Regions from separate parts of the Homo sapiens genome. Here region 1 is linked to region 2. Evidence: promoter capture Hi-C in 16 types of primary human blood cells and fetal thymus (Javierre and others, 2016). All regions are on one chromosome and are shown on one strand. Each heading gives the region's core, a stretch centred on a gene start or on the middle of the fragment in contact. The rest is flanking DNA. Distances are from core to core; before and after follow the strand shown. Region 1 overlaps BRD1 (bromodomain containing 1). Region 2 holds the start of IL17REL (interleukin 17 receptor E like).

Region 1 (2,700 bases), core at 192-2,691, 190 kb before region 2:
CAAAAAAAATACAAAAATTAGCCAGACACCGTGGCACACACCTGTAGTCCCAGCTACTCGGGAGGCTGAGGAACGAGGATCGCTTGAACCTGGGAGGTGGAGGCTGCAGTGAGCCGAGATTATGCCATTGCACTCCAGCCTGGGCAACAGAGCGAGGCTTCATCTCAGGAAAAAAAAGAAGAACAGAAAAGAAAAAATAACAATAAATCAATGTAAGGCCAGGCATGGTGGCTCACGCCTGTAATCTCAGCACTTTGGGAGGCCGAGGCAGGCAGATTGCTTGACCCCATCTCACCAAAAAATAAAAACATTAGCAGGGCATGGTGGCACATGCCTGTGGTCCCAGCTACTCAAGAGGCTGAGGTGGGGGAGTCGCTTGAGCCCAGGAGGTCGAGGCTGTAGTGAGCCATAACCATGCCACTGCACCCGTCTGAGCAGAAGAGCAGGACTCTGTTCAGGAGATTCTCCTGCCTCAGCCTCCTGAATAGCTGGGATTACAGGCGCGCACCACCACGCCTGGCTAATTTTTATATTTTTAGTACAGATGGGTTTTCACCATGTTAGCCAGGCTGGTCTCGAACTCCTGACCTCGTGATCTACCCACCTCGGCCTCCCAAAGTGCTGGCATTACAGGTGTGAGCCACACACCCAGCCCTGCCTGTTTTTCAAAGTGTTTATTTACCGCTGTTATTATTTAATCATAGTATATCAAACTTACAAAAAAACAGATTATAACCTTAAAACTATCTCTTTTAGCCTGGCGCAGTGGCTCACGCCTGTAATCCCAGCACTTTGGGAGTTCGAGGCGGGTGGATCACCTGAGGTCAGCAGTTCAAGACCAGCCTGGCCAACATGGTGAAACCCCGTCTCTACTAAAAATACAAAAATCGGCCGGGTGTGGTGGCAGGTGCCTGTAATCCTAGCTACTCAGGAGGCTGAGGCAGGAGAATCACTTGAACCCAGGAGGTGGAGGTTGCAGTGAGCCAAGATCACCGCACTGCACTGCAGCCTGGGCAACAAAGCAAGACTCCACCTCAAAAAAAAGGGGGGAAAAAAAAGAACTATCTTTTTTACTTGAAATTTTAATTTTTTAAACCACTAGAATTATAAAAGCAGTCCGTCCCTGAAGGCAGATTCTGTTCTGTCCACAGGGAATAAGGAAGATCCTCTTTCTCTAAAATCTCTAAAACGCTGCTCAGATGGGGTCTCATCTCCCTTCCAGCGTGACTGGCTGGCCTGAAGCATAACATCCTCAGATGCTCTAGGTGGGTCCTACACCGGAGCCATTGGTTAGTGCACACCATAACCAACTAGACTCAGCATCCCCGCCCACGGCTGCACATCAAGAAGCTTCACCATGGGCCAGGCACAGTGGCTCGTGCCTGTATTCCCAGCTGAGGCTGGGAGGAGGCTGAGGCGGGAAGATCGCTTGAGTCCAAGAGTTTGAGGCTACTGTAAGCCATGATCACGCCACTGCACTCCAACGTGGGCAACAGAACAAGACCCTGTCTCTAAACATAAAATAAAAAATAAGAAGCTTCACCCTCATCTACACAGAATTCAAATGCACAGCTGAGGCCTCCTACATGCACCCAGGGGTAGTGCCCAGGGCCTAAGAACAGGGCTGCCAGATCAGCTGCCTCTCAGACCACAGCAAGGCAGTAAACCCGGTTTCAGGCAGCAGTCAGTACTGTATTGAGAGCCTGCCCCTCACAACCACCCCAGAGGTGGGTCCAGCACCATGGTGCCAACAGGCCAGGCGCACTGGGAGCTCCTCCACTGGTGGCAAGGTGGCCTGAAGCACCAGCATCTCCTGGAGACTGGGAAACCCAGACTGCAGAGACCGCGGCCAGGAACACTCGTCCAGGTTTGTTTCTCTCTCTCTACTCGAAGCTGAAATAATAGTTTATTCCCAAGTTAGGAAAAGAACAGAACCACACAGTACGCGGTTTAGCTCCAATACATGCTTTCAAATATTTAGGTCGAGTTTTCTTCTCAATCAGCCCTGGCCACTTCAGCCCCCATGTCCTGCATGCAAACACTGCCTCCTTCAGTCCTGCCTACCCAACATCAGGAGCCAAAGAACAGAGAGCGTGCGGCCCGGCCAGGCCCGGCCTCTCCCAGAGCAGGTCATCATCTGGTACTGGCCAGGGAAGGGAGCACTTCAGACTTTTGGCTCTTCATTTTGTTAGATCACATTTTGTTTATTTTGCTTCAATTTCAGTAAAGCTGAAATTTTTAGACCTCTTATACAGAAGCTCTTAATACAAACCCTAGACTTTTTGACTCATAGGTAGAAATCCAAGCAAAACCATCTCTTCAAAGTCAGATTAATTTACAAAGACAAACACCTTGGTTTTGACAGGGTTTTCCCTGGATGGGAAGGATTATGAGCATTTTTTGTTCATTCTGTCTGAATTGACTAATTATCTGAGTATTTACAGCTCTGTGAAAAGAAACTGGACTTCACTTTGGTAAAGTAGAGTAATATTAACAAAAATCACTTAAAACTTCTTTTTTTTTTTTTGAGACACAGTTTCACTCTGTCACGCAGGCTGCGGTACAGTAGCACAATCTTAGCTCACTGCAACCTCCCAGCCTCACCGCCCGATGCAGCTCAGCCTGCATGCGTCCCACCTGTGCTGTCCTCCCCTCACATGTGGGGCAGGTCTGACACCTCAGAGGGTCCTGCTCACTGAC
Region 2 (2,700 bases), core at 133-2,632:
ACAGCGCGGTCACACCTCGGACCGGGAGGCTGCCTGCATACCCCGCAGCCGCCTCAGCAAAGCTTTCCAGCTTGCACTTCAAGGCCGCCTCCCCCCATGTCTCCCAACTCAGGGACCATTTCCTCCCAGAGGCAAAAGTCGATTCTGAGGTCTCATCTCTCGCTTCTCCTTCCCCCTCCTAGCCAGGATCCCCAGGCCTGCCCCCTCCCTGTTTTCCATCTCCACTGCAGGGTGGCATCCGGTGGACACCCCTCCCACCTGAACCCGCCCATCTCCCCTGCTGCCACCGGTTCCCACGCATCCCAGCCTGCTTTCTTCCTTGTTCCACGAATGCCCTGTGGATCTGAGCCTGCCCATGGCACCCAGCACTCCAGCCCTTGCTGCTCCCCTCCCTGAGCTGAGCCCTCTGCTGGACCCGTCTCAGGCCCTGTGGAGCTGCTGGATGTCCCCGCAAGTGTCCCCTGAGGTGACCAGGCCACCACCCTAAAGGCACATCTTGCTAACTGCTGTCCCCATGCCAGGAACGGTGCACCCAGCAGGTCCTCAGTGAGTCCTCCCTTTCCGGGACACCTTCTGTGCCCTTTCCATGCCTGTGTCCCCACTGTGCCCGGCCAGCCTTGGGCACCGGGGCCCCTTCCTGGGATGCTGGGTACACTTCCTGCTGCAGGTGCTGATGAAGCGCCCTCTCCTGTAAGGCTGAGTGAGTGGGCTGTGCAGTGAGAGCCCTCCACCCCAACCCAGCCACCTCCACTGCCAACATCTCATTCTCAGCACGTTCTCCGAGTGTTTCCTTGGCAGGTGTCTACACAAGCCCAGGTGTTGCGGGCTCCCGATGGCTCAGAGCAGCCGAGCGGGGTGGGGTGGGAGCCCCGGATGGGCTTGCGGGCTGCCCTAGATTCTAACACAGCCTCCTTGGAGGTCACAGGTGGGTCCGAGGTGGGCTCACCCTGCCTTGAGCTTCCAGCAAACACTTCCCGGAGCAGCTCGGCAGGGTCAGGCCAGGTCTCCCATCCTTCTTTCACCAGCGCTGCCCTCGGACCCCCCAGGGCCCTGCAACCCCTCACCTGCTGATGTGCTGAGAGCGTCAGGCCAGACCCACCTGAGGAGAAACCAGGGCCTTATCTGCCACAGTGTAGGGGCCTAGGAGGAGGCAGGAGCTTACCTGAGAACAGGAGAGGCCACATTCTGTAATCCGGGGGATGGCCAGGCTCTGGAAAGTGCCCCAGGTCAGGCCCAAGAACGCGAGTGCTTGCCCAGCCAGCATCTGGCTGTGCAGTGAGAGCTCCCACTGGTAAGCGTGGATGTGAGTGGGGCAAGTTTGCAGGATGCCCTGTGGCAGCGGCTCCAGGCTGACCCTGCAGCTCCAGCCCCAAAGACAAACAGAGGGTGGAGGCTGCTCTTCACAGCTGGAGCGAGCGAGACACTCCCCCTCCCGGCAAAACAGGGCTCGCTTCACAGACAGCAGCCCGGGAGACTTTCCACCGCCTGGGGCCAGAAGACTGTGGCCAGACACTTGTGGAGTTTCTAGGTTTCCAAAGGAAGCATCCAGAAACCTTGGGGCCTTTGGGGTCCGAGGACACCCTAATGGGGTTCCCCACAGGGCGGCCACTGGTGCAGAGATGGCTCCAGGCCGGCGGGATAGGCTGCCGCCGGCGTGCACCTCCCTCAGGCATGCATGAGGCCAGGAGGGTAGACAAGGGCCCTGGAAAGCTGGCTGGGCTGGCAGAGGGGTGGAATCTGTCCTGGGCACTCATACCCCAGAGCCCCTGGCTTCAGCCCCAGCCCCTAAGGGGAGCCCTCTCCTAAGACCTGAGATTCCACCCAAGTCCCTGGCCTCCACCTCCCCTCAAGATGCAAAAGGCCACCTCCCCTGTGTGGTCCTCCCTATGAGCCCCCCCCCACTCCGGAGGGCACCCCCCGAGGCTGGGAACTCTGGGGCCCAGCCTCTGCTCAGGGAGCCGTTCTGTGTCATCTTCTTATTTGGAGCATCAAATGCATAGGAAAGTTTCTGGGCAGAAGCTTACTGCTTCCCATTTGCCTCCAGCCAGGGCAGGGGGTTGGAGAGAACCAGGGTGCAGTTCTTGGGTCCTCCTGGCTCCTCCCTTCCTGGACAGGCACAGAGGCTTCTGCACCTGCCTCAGGTTCTGGGAGGGCACTGCCCCACGTGTGTGTGTGTGTGTGTGTGTGTGTGTGTGTGTGTGTGTGTGTGTGTGTCTGTGTGTGTGTGGGGGGGGGATGGCGGGAGTTAATAGCTGGGGAGCCTGGGAGTGTCTAGCTGGGGTGTTCTGCCTGGAATACCCACAGGACACCCCAAGTGTGGAGGGCGGCACCACCCCCAGGCTGGGAGAGGCTGTGGGCCTCACACTGTGGGCTCGGGTAGTCAGGAGGGAGCTTGAGAAACAAGCTCTGGGGTTCGGTCCCAGGGGAGGGAAGGCGGCAGGGGCTGCTGTGACCGTGAAGTCCTCCCTCCCTCCCACCACCCCGCACTGCCCACCTCCCTGCCTCCTGGGCCAGCACCTCGACCCTGCCCCCGCCTGGCCTAGAGCCCTCCATGGGCTGGAACTTATGCACTCACTGCTGGGCAGAGTAGATGGGGCTGAGCCCGCCCCCTGCAGCAGCGTGCCTGTGGCCACAATGCCCTGGAGAGAGTGGCTAGTGCCAGCCTCCATGCCACGGCATGGTCAGCAGCAGGCAGGCACA

The links. The method cuts DNA at HindIII sites, captures the fragments that hold promoters and counts their contacts. A CHiCAGO score of 5 or more calls a contact.
Region 1: a contact is called between a fragment that was not itself captured here and the fragment with the promoter of IL17REL in region 2, in 2 of 17 cell types (activated CD4 T cells and total CD4 T cells). The highest score is 5.7, in activated CD4 T cells.

Annotation. Positions count from the first base shown.
Region 1 is chr22:49,819,094-49,821,793 of GRCh38, forward strand. All of the region lies in intron 2 of BRD1 (bromodomain containing 1), which reads right to left. Among named protein-coding and RNA genes, the nearest start is that of BRD1, 7.4 kb to the right of the region's middle. The HindIII fragment of the contact is 187 bases long and covers 1,349-1,535 here.
Region 2 is chr22:50,011,383-50,014,082 of GRCh38, forward strand. IL17REL (interleukin 17 receptor E like) reads right to left here and starts at 1,383. Exons shown (of 15, transcript NM_001371417.1): 1 at 1,163-1,383. The coding sequence starts at 1,264. RefSeq lists an enhancer at 1,268-1,868. The HindIII fragment of the contact is 1,957 bases long and covers 61-2,017 here.